7 separate regions of the Homo sapiens genome follow, and regions 1, 2, 3, 5, 6 and 7 are each linked to region 4. The links are contacts of gene promoters, found by promoter capture Hi-C in blood cells and fetal thymus (Javierre and others, 2016). All regions are on one chromosome and are shown on one strand. The core of a region is centred on a gene start or on the middle of the fragment in contact, and the rest is flanking DNA. Distances in the headings are between cores, read along the strand shown.

Evidence for each region. The method cuts DNA at HindIII sites, captures the fragments that hold promoters and counts their contacts. A CHiCAGO score of 5 or more calls a contact.
Region 1: a fragment that was not itself captured here is called in contact with the fragment with the promoter of TMEM196 in region 4 in 11 of 17 cell types (naive B cells, total B cells, monocytes and 8 more); the score reaches 13.5 in naive B cells.
Region 2: a contact is called between a fragment that was not itself captured here and the fragment with the promoter of TMEM196 in region 4, in 9 of 17 cell types (M1 macrophages, M0 macrophages, M2 macrophages and 6 more). The highest score is 17.9, in M1 macrophages.
Region 3: a contact is called between a fragment that was not itself captured here and the fragment with the promoter of TMEM196 in region 4, in 4 of 17 cell types (M2 macrophages, naive B cells, total B cells and 1 more). The highest score is 9.9, in M2 macrophages.
Region 5: a contact is called between a fragment that was not itself captured here and the fragment with the promoter of TMEM196 in region 4, in 4 of 17 cell types (M2 macrophages, M0 macrophages, M1 macrophages and 1 more). The highest score is 10.0, in M2 macrophages.
Region 6: a contact is called between a fragment that was not itself captured here and the fragment with the promoter of TMEM196 in region 4, in 4 of 17 cell types (M0 macrophages, M1 macrophages, M2 macrophages and 1 more). The highest score is 12.1, in M0 macrophages.
Region 7: a fragment that was not itself captured here is called in contact with the fragment with the promoter of TMEM196 in region 4 in 4 of 17 cell types (M0 macrophages, monocytes, M1 macrophages and 1 more); the score reaches 7.2 in M0 macrophages.

The regions. Positions count from the first base shown.
Region 1 is chr7:20,595,388-20,599,061 of GRCh38, forward strand. No RefSeq gene overlaps it. Among named protein-coding and RNA genes, the nearest start is that of ABCB5, 18 kb to the right of the region's middle. The HindIII fragment of the contact is 2,892 bases long and covers 134-3,025 here.
Region 2 is chr7:20,621,626-20,625,146 of GRCh38, forward strand. ABCB5 (ATP binding cassette subfamily B member 5) reads left to right here. Exons shown (of 28, transcript NM_001163941.2): 2 at 1,640-1,713. The coding sequence starts at 1,661. Among named protein-coding and RNA genes, the nearest start is that of ABCB5, 7.7 kb to the left of the region's middle. The HindIII fragment of the contact is 2,620 bases long and covers 849-3,468 here.
Region 3 is chr7:20,575,082-20,578,748 of GRCh38, forward strand. No RefSeq gene overlaps it. Among named protein-coding and RNA genes, the nearest start is that of ABCB5, 39 kb to the right of the region's middle. The HindIII fragment of the contact is 2,702 bases long and covers 223-2,924 here.
Region 4 is chr7:19,771,327-19,774,947 of GRCh38, forward strand. TMEM196 (transmembrane protein 196) reads right to left here and starts at 2,291. Exons shown (of 5, transcript NM_001363562.2): 1 at 1,224-2,291. The coding sequence starts at 1,370. The region is part of intron 1 of LOC107986774 (a long non-coding RNA gene); the gene reads left to right. The HindIII fragment of the contact is 8,082 bases long and covers 449-3,621 here.
Region 5 is chr7:20,646,034-20,650,092 of GRCh38, forward strand. ABCB5 (ATP binding cassette subfamily B member 5) reads left to right here. Exons shown (of 28, transcript NM_001163941.2): 9 at 1-105; 10 at 1,502-1,615; 11 at 1,935-2,045; 12 at 3,989-4,059. Among named protein-coding and RNA genes, the nearest start is that of ABCB5, 32 kb to the left of the region's middle. The HindIII fragment of the contact is 8,939 bases long and covers 1-4,059 here.
Region 6 is chr7:20,675,069-20,678,671 of GRCh38, forward strand. The region is part of intron 14 of ABCB5 (ATP binding cassette subfamily B member 5); the gene reads left to right. Among named protein-coding and RNA genes, the nearest start is that of ABCB5, 61 kb to the left of the region's middle. The HindIII fragment of the contact is 2,861 bases long and covers 510-3,370 here.
Region 7 is chr7:20,695,992-20,700,087 of GRCh38, forward strand. It overlaps ABCB5 (ATP binding cassette subfamily B member 5), which reads left to right. Exons shown (of 28, transcript NM_001163941.2): 17 at 2,416-2,559; 18 at 3,834-3,938; 19 at 4,067-4,096. Among named protein-coding and RNA genes, the nearest start is that of ABCB5, 82 kb to the left of the region's middle. The HindIII fragment of the contact is 833 bases long and covers 1,789-2,621 here.

The DNA.
Region 1 (3,674 bases), core at 330-2,829, 820 kb after region 4:
TTTTTCTTAGATCTACTTTCTGGAATGCTGTTTCCTCCTATTTTGAGATTATGCTAATTTATGTTGCATTTAGTATATGCCAGCAACTTCCATGACTTTAACCTTCAGTCCTCACAGAAACATTATGAGTTGAAGCTTTTATCTTCTTTCACTGATAAGAAAAGGGAGTCCTAGAGACATTCATTAACTTGACGAAGTTCACGAAGGTAGTAGGTGGTGGAACCAGGCACTGTGTTAGTCCGTGAATGTACGTAGATTAACGATACAAAGATGACTGCATCAACTGGTGTAGGCATCAAACATGTAAATGAATCTTGGTAGCACGTTTGGCTGGGACTATTATTGAGGTTTACACACATAGGATGGCCATTTAACTAAGCGTTATGGAAGACTTCCTACAGAGATTCACACCTGAGTTGATTCATGAAGGATAAGCAGAAAAGTTAGACAAGTGAAAAAAAAAAAAAAAAGAGGAAGGGAAAGAAAGGGTATTTCAGGGCCTAGGAATAACATGAACAAAAGCACAAGGGCAAGCTGAAATAGAATGTTTTGCTCCCTGTTTTAGGCTATTTCTCCAGTTACCTACAAGTGACCCAAAATTTCATACCTTATAACAATAGTTATCATGCTCCTAAACCTGCAATTTAGCAGGACCTGGTGGGAATAATTCATCTATGCCCTGTCTGGCATCATCTGGGATAGCTCAAAGGCTGGGACTGAATCAACTGAAGGCTCATTTACATGTAAGTTGACATTGGCAGCAGGCTGAGACCCAAGCTGGGTCTGTGGGCTGATAATCCTACACAGTCCTGGATGGCTCATGTGGCTGGGCTTTCTCACAGCATGTCGGCTGGGTTGCAAACATGAGCATCCCGAGAGATATAAACCATGTGGAAGCCATAACACATTTTAAAATTTATTTTATTTTTATTGATACATAAGATTTGTACATATTTATAGGGTGCATGCAATATTTTGTTACACAAATAAAATGTGTAATGATTAAGTCAGGGTATTTAGGATATCCATCCCACAAGCATTTATCATTTCTATGCACTGAGAACATTTGAGGTCCTCATTTCTAACTATTTTGAAATGTACAATACATTCATAACACATTTTTGACTTAGCCTTGTAAGTTAGGCAGTATCACTTCCACCATATTCAATTTGTTGAAACAGCTGCAAAATGCACCCAATTTCAAGGATAAGAGAAAAGCCTTCAATCCCGAGAGGGCATAGCAGTGTTTTGGAAAAGCATGTAGACCTGGAAATATGGCTGTGATCATTTTTCAAATATACAATATAGTATAACTCTAAACATAAAAGAACAATATAAAAAGCAAATAGAGCCACTTTCCATAGCTACTGTGTCTTTCTCGATATAATCACACTATTAGCTGCATGAGATCATTGATTGACTCATTGCTTACTAAGAGGGGGTTACTAGCTAAAAGCCAAGAAAAGAATTTAAGTCATATGCCAGGCATCAGCATGAGTTATCCATACAGTAGGCTAAGCACAGGAAATACTGTCATCACTGCACAAAATGCTTGTTGTGTTTTCTTGGCCACATGGCAAATAACCATTCATAAACTTTCTGTAACAAAGACTAATCTAGAAATTGTGTCAGAAGGCCTTGAATGTATTCTTGCAATTGAAAGACCATTTCAAGCTATTTGTCCCAGCCACCACAGGGACCTCTTTTACTAAAGGCAGTGTTAATAAATCTTGACGAAAACTTTCTAATGATTTTGCAGAGCCGTTTCAGTAAAGGTCCTTATTATTTGTGGAAATATCTTCAAAATGACTTGAATCTTTTACTTCATTTCCACGTCCAACAATCATAGCTCCATGCCATTTAATTGTAACAGATTGTAAAATGCTACATCTTACAAGGCCCAAAATGCAAACGGCTCCATACTGCAGGTCATGTCAATGAACTGTAAAGTTGCTACACCCTGGCAACTTGGAGGGACACTAAAATGATTAGAACCATCTCTTCTACAGTCATTAATTCTAAATCCTCAGCTTCTTAGTCACCGCCTCTCCCCTCTGTGGGCTCATCAGAGACCCAACAGAGAAGCAATTGATTCTTCTCTGTCTCCCACAGTGATGAGAATAGACATGATGGAGAGCATATGAGGACATAAGCCCTTTTACCACAGAATTTACATTCTAGAAGGAGTGACAGATGTTACGCAATTACATAAGTATGAAATATAAATGAAAAGGGATAAATGCTGTGATGCAGAAGCTCCTGGTTCTATGAGAGTGTATTGTAAAGAAACTGATGCACACAGAGAGACAAGTAAGGGGAGAAAAGGGGGAGGAAGAGGGGATGGAGACAGAGAACAACTCAGGCGAGAGCCTGAAGCAGGAGGCGCGTGATGAGTTCAGGGAACTGAAAGAAGAAAATGGCATAGCACCAGGATGCTTGGACCTGTGGCCCTAGATGACCTGGGGGGCCCTTGTCCTGAGAACAATGAAGGGCCATTCACAAGGTTTAAGTCTCCAGATATTTTAATTCCTTCCATTCAGGAGCATGTCTTCCTCAACGAGAGATAGCCATGTCAGGGTAGCCCAGTCATTTTTTTGTGTTCACCTTACTGGTCTTCTGCTATAGTTTGTTACCTGGACACTGTAGCGGCTGTCCACTTTCTGTAGTGTATGTGTTCTCCCTAATACGACTCTTCCTTTCTCCTGGATCTATACACCGCTGACACTTCATCTTCCTAAAGTGCAATTTGCATCACATCACTCTCCTCAGAAACTTTCAGAGGCAAATTCAGGATGGAAGGTAAATTCAAGCACTCCTCTGTTTTTTCTGTTCCTATACCATCTGTCACCCTCACCAGCAGCTCTACTCTTCCCAGAATGAATCTTCTACTTCACCCAAATTGAGTATTTTTTCCCACCATCACACAAATGCTCATGGCATGCCTCCTTCTTGAAATGATCTTGCTTTCTTCCTACCCTAGTCTTAATCATCCATTAGAACAGCACCTGAGTCCCACATCTCTAGAAGCTTCCACAGCCAGTGCAGTTTACATTTATTTCTCTCTCTGGATCTGAGAGCTCTTGTTACCTCTGTTCTTCATATTTGTAAGTGGTCATAAATGAATGCACACTCTTGTGATATTCTGTAACTGTTTAGATAGGTTTATCGTGCTTCTATCAAGGACACAAGTTTTTTCTTATCAGAAGCCACATGTTCTATATTACTCATAGCTCTTAGTTGAAGGGTAAACTTCAGGGAAGAGGACAGCAGTCATTCAAGGATCTACACATAAACACTGTAGAATGAGCCATTCTATTTCATGAGCAACAATGACATCTAGTGGCTGACAGGTTGCATAGCTTCTTCTGACTTTAATAATCGGACAAGGCATTCAGAAAGAGAATATTACAGAATAATTAATGAACCCAAGTTATTCCCACCAACTACACTGCTTATGAAGGTATTTCAAATATGGATTTATGTGTTCTGGCTGCCCAAATGCTTCCCCCATCCTCCTGTGGTCCAACGACCCACAAACTACTGGTAAGAGGTCCCTGCCTGTGCTCCTTGCAAACCGCAACTTCCCTTTCCCGTAGGAAGATCACCAGAAATTTTCATGGAGATTATGCGATTTTCAACTTTCTGCTTCCTGTGAAGATAGAGGTTTATGTGGA
Region 2 (3,521 bases), core at 909-3,408, 850 kb after region 4:
AGAAAAATATATGATCTAATAGGGTAACTAGGATTTGCAATATAATGCAGAATGTGTCACGAATATAATACAGACACAAGCAAAGAGCAAAAGGAAATCAGAGAAGGAGGTGATTTTTAGGGAGCAATAATAAAGTAATAAAATCAACGCCTTGCGTAAAGTATTACTCAATAAATATTTCTTGTGCAAATGTGCTGTTGACTTGTTAAAATTTTACCTATTATAATTAAGAATTCAACCAACTAACCAAAAAGATATGGGACTGTGCAATAGAAAACCAGGTATACAGACACTATGGCTCTTTTTAAAAAGAGTGTTTATTTGGCTCAGTGGACTTCCTTTGCTCATACTGTTTCCCAAGTGCAGTATGACATGAAGAACACAACGTGCTTTACCTGGATACTAACCAGTGTTCTAATCAGTTACAGCATGATCAGAAGATAAGCTTGGTAAAGCACAGTTATGAAAGTGCAGCTCATTATTTATTGAGAATAGAACGCATACATGATTTTGGTTTAAATGGACAGATCATGCACTTACCAAGGCGAGGCTTAATTGTTTTGATTTCTTTCTATGGATGGATGCATTTCATTACATAATTGTTAATTTCTATAAAATGCAAATGTTTGAGATTTGTCAATCATTTTATTTTTCTTACATACATGTCAGATTACTGGAGATGGTGTAAAGTCAGTTTAGCAGTTGTAAATATCTCCCATATGAAGTATGACCATTTACTTCTGTAAAAGGAAGAATAAGCCAACAGATGGCTGTATTTGTATTATGCCTTCCTCCTTGGTGCTAAAAGCAGTTCTGATCCACTTTCAATGAGAAGTTTACTATTTGAAAGCTTATTAGCTTTTTCAGATGCTTAGGTACTCTTTAATTAATTTGTAATTCCACTTTAAAGTTTAAAGCCATATCTTTATAATTGTCTTTATATAGGGTAATATGTTATAGGGCCTAACAACTGAGACTGAGTCACAACCATCTCTATAGATCCATAATAAAATGATAATTTATAATTTATGAACATAACTGTGATCTTAAGACAAGGTAAGATCCTCAAGTATCATCCCAAGGAAGAGTAAATTATGCTTAATACAATTTTAATGATGAATGGATTTTCAAAATATTCTAATTTTTTGTAACTGTTAATCCAGTTTGTGAAAGCTCCAAACTTTGTTTGTTTCGTAAACTAGAAAACCCTATTCCCTCAAACTGCTGGCTAATAAAAACTACTGCATCAGTTTTTTAAAGAGAAAACAGCATGAGATAGATTAAAAATTTTCACCAATTCCAGTCAAATGAATGGCAAAGTAGGAATATCTAATATCCTGACAAACAGTGCATTTTCCGTGGAATCTGACTTTCCTTCTTTTATTCCAATTCTAACACTTTCATTAGCTCCAAATCTAAGCCTAGAATGAAGCAAGGAAGTTATAAATTCAATGACAAAATTTGAATCTATGAACTGCCTAGCCAGAAACTTCAATTGGAGTGGGGGGCTGGGCAGGGCGAAATTCTGAGATGCTTCCTTTTTCAAACTGTGAGAGATGTGGGATGTAAAGAATGCTGTATATCAACTAAGTGATAAAAGTCACATAGCCATAATACATTTGTTAAAATTGTATTTCAGAAGAAGTAAATTGTAAATAAGATGGAAAATTCAGAAAGAGCTGAAGAAATGCAAGAAAATTATCAGAGAAATGGGTAAGCTCTCACTAAGTTCTGTAAGTATGCTTCCACAACTTCAAATATAACTCATCCTTTCCACACCTATAGCAAAAATGTTTATAATTTTTTCCCAAAAATAGCAACACTATTTGCATTTTGCTGAACTTGAACATAAGCAGTCTTATAATTAATTTAATAGTGATTTTAGGAACTGCAATAGGATTAATTGTAATAGGATTTATTTATCCAGGATTTATTGATTTAGTGCTTCAGATATCTCCTCTTCTGAATTTCTCATCGTTAATTTCTTGTCCACCATTATACAGAAGAAAGGCACCTGCAAATTTTAATTTCAATTCTCTGTGGACCCTTCATTCCATGTGGTACCTTTAATAAAAGAAAATATTCGATTCCGATTATTTTCTCTCTGAATAGATGTCTCTGTGAATATGTATGTTATACAAGTTTCTACACGTGGAATTCATTAATTGAGAGTTTTTAAATGGAAATAGTTTTACATCTATTTTATTTCCACTTTTACCATAATAATTGTGTTATATTTGGACATACAATCTATAAAACTGGAGAAGATCCCTCCAGGTCATGTAGTTTATTAATTCAGAAAATAGCCAGAGAGGGCATTCCAGCGATACCATTTTCTTGTGAGTCAGAATCAGAAACTTCCTTAGGCTAAAGCAAATTCCATTTAGGAACATTTTGAAAATCAAAAGAACTGCATTCCAAACTTCTCCTTTAATGTTTTTGTTGTTATTTTCCCAAAGTAAATGTTCTCCTTTCTAAGCACCTTTTCCTCATAAATTCAAAACATTATCTAAAGATGCCCCAGCATCCTGGTGTAAGGGGATGCTGAGGGGACAGGTTTATTTTAGAATACATTTGTGCTCTTAAGCATTACCTGTGGACTGACTAAATCATGTGTTCGGCATATATTCCACAGGAAGCATTGTAACTGTACAGTTAAGAGTTTGGGTTCTGGCGTCAGACTGAAGTTCAATCACTAGCTACATAAACTTGGGTTGTTTTACCCTGTGACTGTTTCTTCATCTTTAAAGTGGTCATGATAATAATACACTACAGACCTCATTGGTGAACCAAAAAAACTAACAGGTCAGTAGCAATACCAACAGCAAACTGCATCTATATGCTATCGCACAGAAAATTAGAATGGGGAGGTGGTTGATTTTTCTAGTTTCCATGACTGGAGAGAATAGGAGAAAACAATATGAAAGAAAATAGCAACAGGAATTGAAGGTAGGGGTTGGATGGGCCCTGAAAAGTGAAATTAGTGAGATATAGGTGTGGGGTCTGGCCATGAAATACAGGAAGGATTCCTATTAGGTGGAGGTGACACAACTGGAGCTAAGAGCAGAATCTTCGCTGCTCTGGGCCATGCTGATTTGCGCTAATGAAAGTACTGGGCCACCAACATCGCTAAGATCCCCTCCAGCTTGAAAACCAGCAACGGGCACGCTAGGACTAGGAGCTAGTGCGGCTGTGACCCGCACAATGGAATCAGTTTCCTCTGGGCGCCTCAGGCTCCGCCCTTGGCCTTTGCCAAAGGACACTTGGCCCCAAGAGCTGTGTAGAGGGAGGAGACCCCCAAACCCGCCCACCTGCCCACATGTTGCTTTCTTATGTCAACGCTGATAAAGAGACTTTCACAAAACGACCCAAGCCCTCCTTCGAAACCTTTCCATGAAGGTCAATCGGAGTTAGAAATTATTTCCCTGAAACAACTTTTATCAAGAGAAGAGGGTTTACTGGGTGTTAAGCTTCAAAATCCGCATCTAGAGGTGAGGAAAGGGATTGTAGGGTTTTGCAAT
Region 3 (3,667 bases), core at 324-2,823, 800 kb after region 4:
TGAAATGTAAATTAATTTTAGTATCAGATTAGGAAAAACTGAAATGAAAACATGGAGTCACATATAGTGCATCAGAGGATCAAATAAGGATACTTTTAGGTAGTTTTTGCCATTGCTTTCTTTCTTGAGTGAGGAGTTGATTGCATTCATAATTGATTTATGTGTTTCCATTTCACCATTGAAACATTACCAGGTCATCAACGATTCTGCCTTTGGTCAGAAAGCTTCTCCTGCTGTCACTCTTATCTAATCTTATAATGAAAAAAAATGGCATGTTTTTGGATAAAAGCTGGCTTTCTGACTGCATTGGATGGTTGGCAGGAACTGGAAATAAAACAAGCTATCCAACAACCACATTACTAAGAAGGCAGGCTCCTTTTACAAGATTTATTCCTAATTCTTTTGGGGTGAGAGAGCAAAATATGATAAGAACGAGGATTGCTTCTGATACTAGTTACACTCTGCTCGCCTCTCTCTTGTGCTCTGTCATTATCTCATTAATTCCCTGGGACCCAGCAAACACATTTATGTGGATGGTTCTGGCCCAGCTCCTGCTCTGCCCTCCAGATCAGCACTTCAGCCTCACACTTGACACATCCACCTGGATGTTCTGCCAACAATGCTGGCTCCAAAGTGTGTGCACCTCTGCCCTCTCCCTGCCTCCCTTTCCCTTGCCTTAATAAATCTCCCTTCTCACTTTTCTATTTCCTGTTGGCCACCATTATCTGTCACCCATCACTGAAGTCATGTATGGGTTCTTCTTTCATTGCCTCCCACCTAGATTCTCTATCAGCCTCCCTTCCAAGTGAAGCTCCTGTTTTACTGTGTACTATTGTCAAAGTCTCCAGGCTGTCCTTGTAGCAATCAGTTCTATGTTCTGTTTTAAGACGTGTCTACCCAGAGCACAGCTGTCACAAGCTACCATTGCCCCACATGGTGCATTTGTACAAATCAGGAAAGGCATCCCATCTTCAAGACACTTGACTTCCGTGTGTCAAGAAACTTCTCATTATATAGTACACTTATAATGACTAAAATACGGTCCTACGAAATATAGGTATCAACAGGGTCACCAGGTGAATGACACTGTCTAAGATTTTGCAGTGCACAATCTGCATACAAGACTCCAGGCAGCCCTGTGATCCTGTCATGCCTCAACTCCATACATTAAATGACCCCTCATCACCTGTGAAAATAAATGCAGACCCGTTAGCCTTGTGAGGAGATGCACCACACCTGGCTTCAGCCTGCATCTCCAGTAGTAGCTCCTATGCCTCACCTCCTCACATACATCTGCTCCACTCTTCCGGCAAACTTTCTCAGGACTCACACTTGCCTGTCATCACAGCTTTAATCATCTATCTGCCTGGTACATCCTTCCTCCATTTTTTCAACCTGTAAATATTTCACCCATTTTTCAAATGTCATTTCTCCTAAGAAGCCTTATCTTTTCTCCACCCCAAATAGGAAGTGAGCAATTTCTCCTTTGAATCCACTGTACTTTGTTTATACCTCAGTTACAATATGCATAATGTATTGCCTTTTATTATAGTTCCTGGCTCATTTGACTGATATGTGCCCGATGGTAAACTCTTTAAGGTAAAGGTTGTGTCTCATTTTATGATTTCTTCAGCACCAAGTTTAGGATTTTATGCAGAATAACTTTTTAATTCACCTAGTTGAACTAAATCAGTAAGTCTTGCTCCCAATAAGTTGATTGATTATAAGCATTCCTATTCCTTGGGAATCTTATCAAAAAGAAATTTTTTATTTTCTATTCAATTGCCAAAAAATGGAATTATAATTATGTTTCTGGTCTTTATATGTGCATTGTATTCCATTTGCTTTACTTCTACAATAACTAGGTAACCTTCCTGGTCTTAGATATATAACCCATAAGATATATGTTCACTATTGTATTTTGCTTAACCAAGCAGGATTGAATATGATTCTTTCTTTTCTTTGTTTTGTAAAGTTAGTCTATCCTTGATTTTATAGGTCTTCATTTCCCAACATCTGTACTGTATGAATAAGACAATTCTTATAAGAGGGTGAAAGTGGTTTCTTATTTTTTAAAAAACTGCTATTTTGAGAGCAGCTCACAAGTAATAATATGACAAGAAGTATTTTTGGTCTTACACCTGCGGAGACTACTATGCCACTGTGGGTTTTAAAGAGATCAAAATCTCAACTGAGTTAAGAGCTTTTAATTCTTTTTATCACTTTGCTGTTAAAACTATACTTAGTGGTAAGAAAAATAATAATTATTTTTATTAGATTTGGATTAATTGATAAATATGTGATAAATGCATGGCTTTTAAAGATTACAAATGTTTTATGGGACCCATAGATTCCTAGATTCCTAGACCTGTGTCAAAAACTAGACCATGGATGGCAATTAAAGATGGTGATGCTCAATGACACAGAGATATAAATGCAAATGAAGTTGGCAATATTTATATTCTAAAACCACCTTAAAGCCCCTGCTATGTCATACTTCCTCTAATGAGGGAGCTTAACAGATAAACACTGACCTTTGTATTCAATTGCCCTCTGAAATGAAAGCAAAGAAAAAGTTTGCTATTCCTCATAAACTAATTTTCTACCTTTTTATCAAATTCAGAATATAGTTTCCCTTTCTGTTTTGGCTTCCAGGGAAATCAGAGTTAACTGAGATTGAGCTCTTATTTTTCAGGCCTGAAAATACATGTAATCCAGATGTTGAGGAACTAACTCACATCGTGGTAATTTTAAACCACAGGGATTTAAAGGTCACTTGGTCTAACATTCCCACTCAAATCTGAAATCCCTCTACAGCTTCTCTGACACGTGGCCATTTTAGCTGCACTTGAATGTTTCTAGTACACACAGCTCATGATTTCATGAAGGAGTTCTTCCCCCAGGGTTAGTTCTAAAATTCAGAAAGCTTACAATGTAGTGAAATTTACTTTTTTCCTTAACTTCGCATTAGTTCTGCCCTCCAGAGCCATACTTGATTAAAAAAAAATCCCCGTTTCATATGACTTTCCTCTTTGAATATTTAATTTAAACTGCCTTGCCTTTCCTTAGATTTCACTCCTAGCTCTGCTACTTGCTAGCTGTGAGATCCTGGGAAACTTACTCAACGTCTTTAAGCCTCAGTGTTTCCCTCTGTAACATGGAGATAATAATAGGATCCACTTCATAGGGTTATCTTAAGGAATTTATGAGAAAAAAAACTTGTAAAAATGCTTAACACATTGTCAGTACTCCCTGTGACTATCTTAAAAGATCTTTTTTCCTCAAGTATGTTCTCTCAGTGGCTTATATGGAAAGCCCTCTTTCTCTCAGTTCATCTGCATTCCTCCATTTTTGTTATTGTTCAAATTGCTCTTTCGCAATGCTTTTTCCACCTCCATGGCAAATAATTAGAATGTGACAGTGATGCTGCCAGATCTCCATAGTTCTAATGAGCCCTGCTAAACACACTCAAGTGCCACTTGTCTCCCTGTCGAGGTCTACCTTCTCTGCAGGCCAGAGCTCAGCACAGTGTCAAAGAAAACCTGTTGGTGATTGCCTACTTCTCTCTTGGAATCTCCTGTTCCTTCATTCTAACCTTCGATCACCATGCAGAGATGTAAAATCTGGGCTGCCATGTATACCCTTTCTCATTCAGCTTCTCCCAGGT
Region 4 (3,621 bases), core at 1,041-3,540:
ATTGAACACTATTTTTCTTTTTTGTAGTTCTGCAATTTAAAAACATTTATCTCACCTGAAAAAATATATAAATCTAATTATCCAAAGCAAAATTTTGCCAGTTTCAAAAAAAAGTTACAGCATCTTTCAAAAATGAATTACTTTTGAATAATTTTTCTTGAACTCCGTAATAATCATTTTCTTTTAGTGACTTAAAGCTCAAGTGATTAAGCCATGATGGTTAAACATGCTACAGATTATCAGTGACAGAATACTTTCTATTGAATTATCTTGAAAAGTAGGATCAAGCTAGGCATCCAGAAGTATATGACACATATATAGCTTGAAGGAAAAAACTGGTTTTCACAATTAGATTCACATTAGGAATGGTGCTGAGTTATTTTATTGAATCTTGGTGGAAGAAATGGGTCTCTAAGGCTTTCTTGGAGATTCATCCTAGTAAAAAAGAAGCTTGTTGAGTCTGACATCTGACCTAGAGATAACTATGACAGTTTCTCTGAGCAGTTAGGTACTCTGTAAGCAGAATTATTCTCCATTTAGAATGTTATTACACGTCTTACCATCTGATGTTTTTCTAACTTACTGTCTAGAACTTACAAAAGCGTTTTCAGAGGTGAAATATCAGAAATGTAGCAAAGGAAAATTAACAGCAATGTTTTCTGGAATGAAATGCACCCACAAACTTCCTTTCACACTCACACCACGTTTCTGTTTTTGTTATTGGTGTTGCCTCTGGTGTACCTTGGGCATTATTGCCCAGGGATAAATGCATAACTATCCCTGCTTGTTCCCTGATACAAAAAAATGATGGAATACTCTTATTTTGATTTTCCTTGTAGAAGGAACAAAAGATTAAGTGAGCCTGCCCTTGACAGGTGTGACACCCCCCTCCCCCCGCCTCCCAAACAGCACCACTGGGCAAAGCAGCCTTTTGTAGAATCAGCCAGTGGAAACTAACCCCCCACCCCCACCTTTAAACAAAGCCATTTAATTTGGTCTTAAGCCCAAGTAAGAAACAAAACAAAACAAAACAAAACAAAACAGAAAACGAATAAAGGACAATATAAAGAAGCATAGCTTGTCAGCATGAACCTACATGCAAGCCAGAGATCTATGATTTTGTTTCCCAGGGAGGGAGTGACTAATGCGCGCACCCTGACCATCACCGTAAAGAGGTAAAGAGAGAGTGAAATGGCTCAACGTACACACACCCCGCTCCATACCGGGGACGAGTCTCCGAGCTGCGGCTTGTGCTCTCGGAGGGCCAGGCTGAAGCTGACCGCCCCCACGGCCACGCTGGACACCCCCAGCCCTATCTCCAGCACGGAGAGCACCAAGAGGCTCCCAATAATCTGACCGCTGGTGCACATCCTTCCTCGGTCATCTTCCTTCCAGATCAGAGAGGGAAATCAACCATCTACCTTTTTTTCTTCCACTATCCTCCTTACCCCTTCCACCCCCTACCAGATCCCAAAACTTTTCTTTCTTCAAGAGCGAGGCATTATCCACAAGGGCTGGATTTCCAGAAACGAAGACCTTCCCTGGCTGGGCCAGAGGCAAAGGAGCTGCTCCACCCCCTGGCACGTTCAGATAGGGATCGTAGAAGGATCTTCCTGGGTTCGGTGGTGCGAAGATTGCACACCGGTACCGGGGCTTTTAAGCAGCGGAAAACCTGGAGGAGCCCAGGGAGCTCCGAGCCTTGCTCCCCAGGCGCTGTCCAGAGTTCTGCCGCGTCCCAAATCTCCGCAGGGAAACCCGCGCCCTCCTCAGCCTACTAGACCCTTTCACAGGGTCCCTTCTGTTTTATTGCCGAGGAGAGGAGCTTTGCTTCCCGGAGATCCAAAGGGAACCGCTCCGAGTTTCTCTCTCCCTCTCCCGTTCGTCACCTCTCCTTTGTTTTCGTGGCAATGCGAAGTGCTTCTGCAAGTCTCTGGGTCCCCAGGCAGAGCGGGCGGATGATATTCAGCACCACGCTCCTTGCAGTTGCTTTGTCGCCAGAAAAAGCGACCTTGTCTGATGGCCTCTTTCCGTCTGGGTTTCTTCTCCCTCGTCGTCGTCCTCTTCCTCCTCCTTTCTCTCGAGCTGATTCTCTTTCATTGCTATGACCTCATTGGGGTTTAGGAGGTTGACGGAGGAGGAAAAAGCCTAATGTATTTGTAGATCCAGGACCAGTACTCTTGGCTGGCCTTTGATCCGCCCCGCCCCCGGACCGCAGCAACAGAAATCCAGGCGACCCCTACCTCCGCTTCTCCCCGTGGCTCCTTTCTGGGCTTCTATCCAGCGGAGAGGGGAGGCGATGCCTACGTCAACGCGGGCTCATTCTGAGAAAAACTTTCTTTAGCTTGTACGCGGGGTAGGGGGAGCAGTGAGCAAAGAAAGACGGAAACCCCAGGGGGGTGGAAAAAGCCAGACTCCTAATGTCACTAGGACTCTCAAGGCCCCTCACCAAGGAACTCCCCTGTCTAGGAGAGCTAGATTCAAGCCTGCTTACAAGGAATGTCCACTCCCGGCCATCACAGCCTGTCACCTTCCGTGTCGTAGGGCGAAGAAGCAGTTGATGGGGGCCACACCTCCACGGTGATTTTGTTCCTCTCCAGCCACAGACCCTTGCTTTCCCCTAGGAGCGTGACCACACGTTCTGGGAGGCATAGCTAGACCCAACTGAGCTGGGATTATATATTCTCAACAAAATTCAAGAGATGTGTATGCATTAGAACAGGCATTATTTAAAAAAAAAACACGTCTGGCTTAATGCACAATTATTTTTGACAGTCTACTTTCATCAGAATCTTTAGGGCAGGGGCCAGTCCAGCTTGGCCTGGGATATTTTTGCATTGTCTTTTGATGCCTATGAGACTCTAGATGTCTAGGGATCGCTGTGTTTAGACCCCATTTTCATTACTCTAGTTTTATGAAAAATCTCAAGGTATTCTATCAAGGAGATCTAGGAAGTGGGATAAAGAGAGGGTTTTGGGTGTGGGTCATCTTTCTCAAAAACTGGGTTCTCCAGTTCGACATGGACTGAAGGAAAATAGAACAAAGGAAGATGAGGTTAGGGTACAATAACACAAGACTAGGGAATGTTGACTTCTATACATCAGTGCAGTGCAGGCGCCTCTATTAGAGGCTTCTTAAAGCTCCCATGATGAGAACATAAAAGCTCGGTGACCTATAGCATAAGTTCTGTAACATAAATGCCAGTTTCAGTTTTCTTAAATTTGATTAAGGGCTTCTTTTAGAGTTTAAACTCAATTCTACACTATAATTTTTTTCATATGTTTATATTCTATAATTTAAAAATTTGAATCCTTTTCTCTTAAAAATAAAACAAATGTAAGGAAGAAGAGTTACAATTTGTTAGGCCTTAAAGAGCTTCAGTTATTGTGATATTTGGAGTACAAATAAACATTGGTACTGAATGATAATTAGTGGATTCATTTCTATGCTTTTAAATCCTCAAAGACATGCTAAAGTACCTCATTAGTGTATGGCTTTAATGATGTAAAGTTTATTTAATTTAAATAATACAGAAGTCATCTAAATGATCCAATTTATATGCATAAATAATACAGCATATATGTTGTTGAAGTTTTGCTTTGTGTTTAGTCACTTCTTTTCTTT
Region 5 (4,059 bases), core at 1-2,500, 870 kb after region 4:
GCTGTGTACTTCTTTATGAATGGAACCTATGGACTTGCTTTTTGGTATGGAACCTCCTTGATTCTTAATGGAGAACCTGGATATACCATCGGGACTGTTCTTGCTGTAAGTCTTGTTTGAGAACAAGGTGTCAGGCCTGGATAATCTTTCCTTACCTAGTTTAGCCAAAATTCCTCTTTGAAGATAAATATTCAAAGATGGATGTTTTTATTAAACAAATATTTGTTTCCCTCAAATTATCTGTATACACCTTTAAATTATAGTTATGAATTGACAGCATTTATTCATCCAGCATGTTTTAGTGTCCTCGCTGTGTCAAGCATCTGCATTCCGCTTTTGGAAGAATCATAATTGAATTCCCCACTGGGAAATACACTGAGTTTTGTTAATCTAGCAGTGAAAAAGGCCATTCTCTTGTGAGACTTTTCCTTTCATCTGGGCTGAGATCAGACGGAGTTCTGCATTCACCTTGCTAAATGTCTTCTCTCTGGAAATGGTCTGTAGAGTTTACACTCACCTCCTCTTCCTCTGTCCTTTCAGCATGTAGTAATTTAAAAAACAGACTACATATAGCTCTGTCCAGTATCACAGTTTGGAGACTTTTAAATTCTTATGGGTTATGTGTTAAATAATAATTTATTCAGTTATCCTCTTAAGTTACAATAAACAGATCAGTTCAGGATTAAGAAACATTTGTCTTGAGGAACCAAAATGATCTGCTCTTTATACTTTGATCCTTGTTTGGCCTTTCCATTCTTACAGATTTCTCTTCTTTCCATTAAATTCATCTTTTGAATTTGAGGCATTCATAATTAAGACTTTTAGCTATTCATTTATTTCATATAAAGTGAAATGTGAGCATGAACGATTTTTCACTCATCCTTGCTCCTCAATTTATGTGTGGCTGGGTATCTGGCTTACTAAGCCTAAGCATCCTCATCTATATGATAGGAGTAAGAGCTCCTAGCTTGAGGGATTCTTTTCTTATTTGACTTTTTGCAGAGATGAGTCTGTCTTAAAATGGACAGCTGTCCCCTAATACAAAAATTCAAAAACGGTTTGAGTGAAAACAGTACAATGTCTCTGAGCCAATAAAATCTACTGAATTTTTCTTTTTAAAGTTCAAGGGGTCACCCAACAAGGAGGGGAGTGCAACTCACCATGGGGTTTATACATGGTCAGCACACTTCAGTTAGCAGATTTTTCTGGTCACACATCCCAGCATGTGATAACCACAAGACTATGAGATAATCAAAAGTTGTTCCTTATTAGGAAAAGGCCAAGGATACTTGGATTAATCTGTGTTTCTATTGCTTCTCGGCCTTTTGGCTAAGATCAAGTGTAATCTGTGTTCTTTTTTATTTGGTCATATCTTCCATTCTTTCTTACCTAATTCCTCTAATATCTCTCTGTGAGCCTAAACCAATAATTATATATTACATTCTATTGTCTTTCTTATATAACTGCAGAAAGATAAATATCACTTTGTTTGTTCCTGTAGGTTTTCTTTAGTGTAATCCATAGCAGTTATTGCATTGGAGCAGCAGTCCCTCACTTTGAAACCTTCGCAATAGCCCGAGGAGCTGCCTTTCATATTTTCCAGGTTATTGATAAGGTAAGACCTCTTATTGCTTTGAAGAATAACTATCATTACTGCAAGAAGGAGACAAAAAAACATACACCCTCATTTTCACTAAAACAATAGGATGGACAAATTTAATGTTGGCCAGTTGTTTATGGGAAAGAGAGACTGCCTTTAATTCTTTTCTAAGAGGAGATTGTGTTGTATTGAAACCTTCATGTCTAACTCAATGCACTTCTAAAGCAGAAAGGAAACTGTCATGGAAGAAAACCATCCTTATACTATTTTTAAAATGTAGAGACTGTCAGTTTACTCCTTTGAAGATTTATAACATTTCCTTTGTTTTTCCAAGAAACCCAGTATAGATAACTTTTCCACAGCTGGATATAAACCTGAATCCATAGAAGGAACTGTGGAATTTAAAAATGTTTCTTTCAATTATCCATCAAGACCATCTATCAAGGTAGGTTAAAACAAATTACGCAATTGTGCAGTTTTCTGATATTATCTTCTACTGGCCAAGATCTTCTCTGACATGATTACTTAGGATCACTTTTTTCCAAGATTTTGGCTACTTTGCTTAGAGACTTGAGGAGGTAGATAAATAATGGACAAATAACTCTGGATCAACTAGTTATATTTTGCAGCATTCTTTCTATATTCAACTGACTAAAGCATTTTCAGCTCCGTGAAATTCTTCTACTCTGGGTTTGGGAACACACCTAAATGTCTTGGGTTGACGCTGCCACCTGTTGGTGGTTCCTAGATGCTACCCCACTCAACATACTCATTTTAACCCCCTCCTCTCTAACCTAGGAGAATTATGCACATGTGCCTTTCCCTTCTTCCTTTCCTGGGGCTTTTACTGCAGCAGCAATTGCGGCTAGTACTTTATCGCCTTTACACACACGCACACACACACGCAGTTTATCGTACTCCATCATTCAGTCTTTGACAAGTTCTTGTGAAAATGTGTGTCTTTTTTATTGTCTTCCCCCTTTCACTTCATTAGTGTATTTACCAAAAAAGTAGTTGTTGTTAAAGATTGCACAAGGCGATTACTAATAAAACACTGGCTTCATAGAAAAAGACATGATTTTAAGTGAAATAGATAAAATTACTAGTGTGATCAATTTCTAATGTCTGCTACAGAATTTGTATAAAGACCTACCTACTCCTACTTCCTTATTTTTTTTCTGATTAAAACTTTGATCGAAATTCTCTTTTCAAAGCTCTTTAGTTTTGAAAGTTGTTACTTAATTACCGATTACCATTATTGGTATAGTATTGACTTCCACCATTTTTCTTAACTGTACAGTATTTCAAACTACATTTTGCAACTGTATTTGGATTGGCTTCCTAGGGACTTCAGCACCAATTGTGCCATTATATTGCATGGGAAAGTGTTCTTTGGGTTTTAAACAACTATTTTTAAAATGAACTTTTGAAACATAACCCTTTTTGTTAAACTAAAGAATGAAATTTTGGGGGGGTCCACCTATTTTAAATAAATAAATTCTTTCAAGGAATGACCAGAAACCAAATCTAGAGTAAAAGTGCAGGTGTGAGAAGAGGTACTCCTACTGGTGGTCCCCGATTTCTCACCTCCTTCAGAGAACTTTTCTCGGCTTGGCCCTCTGAAGGTTTTATGTTTGGCTTATGCAAAGGGTCCATTGCTTTACAAATGGTGAGATCAAAGCAAGAGAATTCAAAGGGAGATTCCCCTGTTTAGGGCTAACTACATACAGATGCAAGCAAAGATAGGTGAGAATTTCTCAACAGGATCACTGTTGTCATTTCGAGAGGGTAATTATTGTGAGGCTTCAATCACATTGCAGGTCCCTGGCACACTAAATGCTGTAGCAACCCCAGTCATTGAGAAAATGTTTAAAGTGTTCCCTCATGGGTCACCATGAGCCCACCAAGGTTTCTAATGATAAACTCTCATCTATCGGGAGCCACTAAGAAACTTTGCCAGCTGTTTTCCTTTAGAATATGCTTTGCAATTATGTTAGTATGTCCTAAGGAGGAGCTTCATTAAATAGCTTGTGAAAATATCTGGCAAGATCTCATTTACTTGTTACAAATTAAGACTTTCATTAACTTGATAGTCAAAATTCATATAAAATATTTTAGTTGAAAATGTGAACAGTTTACTAGTTAATATTCTGAAGTACTCTTAATTTAGTTCTCTTTACATAGAGAGATAATGATAGATTCTTTTACTACTATTTTCTGAAATTATTCAGGCTATTACTACACATGTACATGAAACAAACATAACAAGATCTAAATTTGTTTTTAGAAGAATTTGTTTTTGGTTATAATTATGTACTCATTTTCTGAAAATGTGTCCATCATCTTCTTATTGTGGTTTTATGATTTTCCCTCCATACATTCCAATAGATTCTGAAAGGTCTGAATCTCAGAATTAAGTCTGGAGAGACAGTCGCCTTGGTCGGTCTCAATGGCAGTGG
Region 6 (3,603 bases), core at 690-3,189, 900 kb after region 4:
CCCAAAGCAATCTACAGATTTAGTATAACCTTGATCAAAATCCCAATGGCATATTTTACAGAAATAAAGAACTCACCCTAAAATTAATAAGAAACCACAAAAGATATCAAATATCCAAATCAATCTTGAGAAGAAAAACAAAGCTGAAGGCATCACACTTCCTGATTTCAAAATACATTACAAAGTTATAGTAATTAAAACAGTATAGTACTTGCCTAAAAATAAACATGGAGGCCAATGGGACAGAATAGAAAGCCCAGAAATAAATGTATGCATATATAATCAACTGACCTTTGACAAGGGTGCAAAGAGTACACAATGGGGAAAGGATGGTTTATTCAACAAATGATATTGGGAAAATTGGATGTCCACATGCAAAAGAATGAAAACTGGACTTTTATCTGCACCATACACAAAAATCAACTCAAAATAGGTTAAAGACATCAGTATAAGAAACTGTAAAACTTAAAATGAAACTGTAAAACTCTTAGAAGTAAACGTAGTGGGAAAGCTTCATGACATTAAGTTTGACAATTATTTCTCGGATATGATGCCAAAAACACAAACAACAAAAGCAAAATTAAATAGGTAGGACTACATCAAACAAAAAGCCTCTGCACCACAAGGGAAATAATCAACAGAATGAAAAGGTAGCCTACAAAAAGGAAAAAAAAATTGGAAACCATATATCTGGTAAGAGATTAATATCTAAAATATATAAGGAACTCCTATAACTCAATAGTAAAAAACAAAAATAAAGAATAAATAACCTGATTTAAAAATAGGCCAGGAAGTTGAAAAGACATTTCTCCAAAAAAGACATACAAATGGCCAACAAGTACGTGAAAAGATTCTTGACATCACTAGTTATCAGGGAAATGTAAGTCAATACCACAATGAGATATCTCACACCTATTAGGATGACTATTGTTAAAAAATAAATAAATAAATAAGTGTTGGTGAGGATGTGGAAAAATTGGAACCCTTGTATATGACTGATGGAAAGTAAAAAGTTGCAGTCTCTATGGAAAACAGTATGGAGGTTCCAGAAATAATTAAAAATAGAATTACCATGTGACCCAGCAATTCTACTACACATACACACACACACACACACACACACACACACACATATGTATAAGAATACGCACATTAATTCCAATAATCTGGATATATTAATATATATTCAAAAGAACTGAAGTCAGTATCTCGAAGAGGTATATACACTCCCATGCTCATTGCATCATTATTTCTAATAGCCAAGATATGGAAACAACTTAAATATTTATTGGCAGATTAACAGATAAAGAAAAATATGATACCTACACAAGGAAATATTAATAAGCCTTTAAAAAGGAGGAAGTCCATATGGAACAACATGGATGAATCTGAATGACATTATGCTAAGTGAAATAAGCCAGTCGCAGAAGGACAAATACTGCATGATTTCTCTTAAATGAGGTGTCTAAAACAGTCAGACTTGTAGATGCAGACAATAGGATGGTGGCTGCTAGGGAATGAGCAGGGAGAGAAACAGGGAATTGCTGTTCAGTGGGAATAAAATTTCATTTATGTAAGACGAATAAGTTCTAGACATTAACACTACAACATTGTGCCTATAGTTGGCAATATTGTATTGTATTGTACACTTAAAATTTTAAGAGGATAGATCTCATGTGAAGTGTTCTTACCACAAAAAATCAATCTGCACAATAACTCTAAAATAGAGGTAGTGTAATTTTCCCTATTATCAAATGAAGAATATAAGACTTAGGGGGTTAAAAAACTTGTCTAAGTCCTCCAAGACAGAAATTGGCAGAAACAAGATCCAAACCCAGGACTTGCAACTCCAGAAAACACAAATGATGAAATTATTGAATACTAGATTTGTCATTATAAAAGTCATACACTATAATCTATATATACTGCTTGCTGTTTTGTAGTTAATTACCTTGTAATGTATTAATTATTATAGTTACATCCATCATGATATTTGTCAGATTAACTGTATTACGAGTTTTTATTGAGACAGTGTGGACTTCACTCCTATATCATTAGTCTTCTTAGTCTGTTGTTCATAAAACTTGTTCAGCTATTCATGCAGTGTGATAATTTGCTTTTAAATTAAAAATATAAAGGGAAATTTGATCCCAGTCATATTATCTCAGTATATACTTTTAGAAAAGAGCTCCGAAGCACAGGTAGGGCTGCTAGAGGGGAGCATAACTGTCCATTCTACCTACTTTTTGTGACAGGAAATGGGGATTAAGGATACAGATTTAGAAGCTGAATAATAATTATAGTCTGATTTTTAGTATCAGACTAAAAATCAGTTATCAAAGTCCTGACATCTGTCCTGACTTGGATAAATGTTTAACCATCAAAAAATACTGCCCTTTGCCAGTAATCCAGCACTTTGGCAGGCAGAGGCAGGTGGATCACCTGAGGTCAGGAGTTCAAGAACAGCTTGGCCAACATGGCAAAACCCTGTCTCTACTAAAAATACAAAAATTAACCGGGTGTGGTGGTGCACGCCTGTAATTCCAGCTACTCGGGAGGCTGAGGCAGGAGAATCGCTTGAACCCGGGAGGTGGAGGTTGCAGTGAGCTGAGATCACACCACTGCACTCCAGCCTGTGTGACAGAGCGAGACTCTGTCTCAATAATTAATTAATTAATTTAGTTTATAAAAGTACCCTTTGCCCCTCTTTCTACCTAGTCCCGCTGTTTAAATGACTCCCTTAATATCTGTTATGTGGGAAAAACCAGCTGAAGTAGACTCACATTGAATCCTTTTTACCTCTGTCAATGATCAAGACCAGCTACATAGTTTGTGGGGTCCAGCACAAAATGAAAATGTAGAGCCTCTTCTTCAAAAACTATTAAGAACTCCAGAATGACAGCAGCAGAGCATTAAGCCAAGAGTCATGCCCTTCTAAATCTTTCTTACTTTTAAACCAAAGTGCAATACATGCACATTAAATAAAATTGGGAAAACTGAGATGAGAAAAATATAATCCATAGATCCAATAAGTAAGAACAGGTACTATTAGTATATTGATATATTTCTACATAGGTGTCTTTTTTATGGGAAATTTTTTTAAAACATAATTATAATAGGATACATATTTTTCCTGCATTTTTACAGGTAGCATTATATCATACATCTTTTCCACATTATCATTTAATCTTAATAGCCAATGCTTTGGGAGGTTCCCTTCTCTTATAGATTTGGAAAAAAGTTTGAAAGAAATTATCACCTGCTTCATCAAGTTTATCTATTGCAATGAAGAGACCTTGTGGAGAGAAGAGGGAAAACCACACTGGGTTTTAGTACCAGTCCTTCCAGTGACTGGCTGAGGCCCTGAACAAGCTTCTTAACTTTCTGAGTTCCATTTTCCTGCTCTATAATAGATAAGAATAAGAAAAGTAAATAGCAGTAACACAGTAATAGTATGAATAGTAACAATACTAGCTGTCGATTGTTGATTCCCTGGCAAATCTGTAGTGCCAGAAGTGTCAGTTATTGTGCTAGGCATTTACAAAACAAAAACAAAAACAAAAACAAAAACAAAAAAAAACACATTACCTCAAGAATAGTCCA
Region 7 (4,096 bases), core at 955-3,454, 920 kb after region 4:
GAAAATAATTTGTCAGTTTCTTAAAAAGTGAAACATTCACCTACTAAATGATCCAGCCATTTCATTTCTAGATATTTGCTCAAGAGAAATGAAAGTATATGTCCACACAAAGCCTTGTATATGAATGTTCATAGCAGTTTTATGTGTAATAGTCTAAAAGTGGGAACCACTCAAATTTATATCAACAGGTGGATGGATAATAATTTGTGAGATAGCTATACAGTGAAATGCTATGCAGCAATAAAAGGAAATGATATGCTGATTTATGCCGCAGCATGGATAAATGGCAAAATAAGTATGTTGAGCAAAACAAGCTATCTGAAAAGGAGTAGATAATGTATGATTTCATTTATATAATGTTCTAAAAATGCAAACTAATCTATAGTGACTGAAAGCATATCAGTAGTTGCAGGAGGAAGGAAGGAAGAGGACTGGCAACTAAGAAGTGTGGAGAGAGGGATGATAAAAAAGCAGGAGAAAACTTCTAGGGGTAATGGATATGTTTATTATCTTGACTTTTTTGATGTTTTCCTGAGTCTGTAGCAGTGTTCAAATTTATCAAATTTTACATTTCAAATATGTGCACTTTGTTATATGAAAACTATAACTCAAGAAAGCTCTAAGCTGTATCAAATGAAATTTAGAATATTTTAGATATCACTTTTTAACTTTTTAATACTCGTCATATCTCTTTATGTCTATAATTTTATGTTTTTGTATGAGATTATTTTAACGCATGTACAACCTGTCTCATATTTAAGTAACACAGCCTATTTTATGATTTTACTGAAATTTTTGTTTTGTTTTTATCTTATTTACTTCTTTTCTATCTTGACAACACTATTTAAATGATACCATTTTAAATCTTTTATTGTGTATTTTCCCAGAGGCAAAAGAACATCTTTAAATTACCTATGTAATGTAGATCGTTCTATAGGAGGAAGATAGCCCTCCTAATTTCCTGGCTCTGTAATTTACTGGTGTCCTGGCACATGTTAAACCTTAATCTCCTTACCAAATAAGGTAATTTTGTAATGCACTTAGTTTCATGCTCAGTGCCTGATAGTTAGCGTGCAACTTTTTAAATTTTTGTACATTCTTTTGAACAGTGACCTAGCTGAAATGTTGTGCCCTTTTTGATGATGAGCTTTAGAAAACTTCAGCAGGAAAAATGATGGATACAATCAAATTATTAAGTAATCCAATATAAATGTGGGTTAGCCACCCTGAAAATGGACTTTAAAGGCATCAGAATTTCAAAGTTCTGTTGTCCAAACAACAGTCCGCATTATAGTGGCCACACTGAGAATAGAACGAGAATTATAAACTATTTTATAGTCTTACTTGAAGAATTCTCTGGTTATTAGGTCCATAAATGTCATTATTTTAAGAGTGAATGCCATGAGGAAGTTTTAATGAATGAAATACCAAAGAATTCACTGTCTACTTTCCTACTCAGAATAATTACTCACCACAAAGCTGTTCAGAAGAATTTTTAAGATTCTGAAATACACTACTTATTGCAGACAAGAGCCAAGAGAGATCGTTATCGTATTATTTATCCTCTGACCACTGTGACCACTACCTCCCCTTGTCACCTTCCACGTCTCCTAGGAAGGGCTGGCAGACCCAGAATGACTACTTGCATTGTGCTTTCTCTGTATAAAACCTGAAATTTTGTGTAACATAATCCTTCCTCTGTAATAACATCAGAAACAGCAATGACTGCTAGCATTTATTGGGTGTTTATTGTTTGCAAATACAGTGAGTTGCAAATGTACTGAATAAAGCTTAATTGTATAAACAATCCTACAAGATAGGAACTGATACCACTCCCCTTGGAAAAATGAGGAGACAGTCTTGGTGAGTTTAAATAATGTGCTCGGATATTGCAATATTTTGCTTGTAAATAAGAACTCCAAAACAAGCCAAGGTATTAGGAAAATGTTTTTGTAAATACATCTTGAAACTTTCCAACTTTCAAGTTTGAGATCGTAATGAAACTTTTACCTTCCACATTTTCTTTTCTTAGCTTCTGCCTAGATTTTTTTCTTATCCTGTAGTACAATATTCCATCCAGTTTAACAAGAGTAAAGAAAAATACACCTGCCATTTCTTTTGTGACCCTTAACAATTACATGTGAGTTAACTGTACTTTTTAAATAATAGCAACTGAGTGAAATGCCAAAAAGTGATATTGCACAAATAGTCACTTGTGGCAAATCTTCTTTTATTTTATGCTTTAGGGTCATCGTTAATAATACGGGCAGTGAATTTTTTAAGAAAAATATTTTCTACCCTGCTGTCTGTTATGTTTGATGTTATACATTATAATTCTGTTTATGATGGGCTAACTTCACTAGATTCTGTTATGCACACAAACTGGCATTTTTAACCAACATATTTTATTTTTAGATAAGTCTTCCTGAAGTCTCTCTATTAAAAATTTTAAAGTTAAACAAGCCTGAATGGCCTTTTGTGGTTCTGGGGACATTGGCTTCTGTTCTAAATGGAACTGTTCATCCAGTATTTTCCATCATCTTTGCAAAAATTATAACCGTAAGTAAAATAAATTTGCTAATACTTTCAGCAATTTAAAGAAAGTATGACCTGAGAGAACAAGCTTGTATCAGTCTAAACCACAAGGGGAAAATTGGGACTTTTAGTGGGCCGCCCCTAGTGTGGAGTCCGTGATAGGAAGGTTAATTAATGTTCCCAGGAGATAAGCCAGCATCTCTTGTAAAGTGTGTGGCCGGGCCTTGTTGACTGGGCAATCAGTGAAGAAATTGCTTTGTTTTCTAATTTTTACTCCAGTGCTGGATCAGCATTCCAAAACACTGAAGAAATAAAATAGGCAAATACAACTACTTTCCTTTCAATTAGTGGGTATAGTTGCAATTTCTTTTCTTACCAGCCAGCTCAGGGAGAAGAAATAACAAGAGTCTGGGATTTTGCTAAAGGACTCAGGGCAATTGGTGTGTTTAAGGATCTTACAAGATCCATGCTTACTCTTCAATGTTAACTAAAGTTCTAGCCTGGAACTTCAGTCTCCCTAATTTGCACAGCTATACTTTATCAGTATAAATGCCTGTGTATGTATGTTACTAATTTTTAAGAAAAATTCTGGGGGCACATTAAAAAGCCTCACCTTGCAGGTACTACTTAACTAGAAGACTACTAAGAAACTTGAGTGATCAAAAATTATTCAAAATAATAATTCAAGCAAACTGGTGGTTTCTTGGGAAATATACTGTGATAATAATAGCAGATAGATGACTCATTATTCAGATCTCATATTTACATAGTTTGAGAATTAAAAGCAAGTTATTTTTTATCATAGATAATGTATGCAGATGATAGCATCATGGTGCACTTTTTCCCACAGAAATGTGTGTATAGTTTTATTTTTATGTTGAAATTTATTTTAAGCTGGGTGCAATGGCTCACGCCTGTAATCCCAGCACTTTGGGAGGCGGAGGCAGCCGGATCACTTGAGGTCAAGAGCTTGAGACCAGCCTGCCCAGTATAGTGAAACCCCATCTCTATTAAAAACATAAAAATTAGCCGGGTGTGGTGGTGCGCGCCTGTAATCCCAGCTACTCGGGAGGCTGAGGCATGAGAATCACTTGAACCTGGGAGGCAGAGGTTGCATTGAGCCAAGACTGAGATCGCAACACTGCACTCCAGCCTGGGCGACAGAGCAAGATTCTGTCTCATAAAAGAAAAAAAAAAAAGAAATGTATTTTAAAACTCCTGATATACAGAAATTTTCACTTTTTCTGTTTCTTTTATATTTTCCCCCAAACACCTGATAAAAATCTGTTCCTTTTCAGATGTTTGGAAATAATGATAAAACCACATTAAAGCATGATGCAGAAATTTATTCCATGATATTCGTCATTTTGGGTGTTATTTGCTTTGTCAGTTATTTCATGCAGGTAAGCTTTTAATAAACAAGCCTGAGCATGATTACTTTTTGTTGCCATTCTTTCTATTTGAGTTAAAAATATATCAACTAAATGTTACAAAGGAAAAGAACGTAGATTTTTGTTTGTTTGCTTTTCAGGGATTATTTTACGGCAGAGCAGGGGAAATT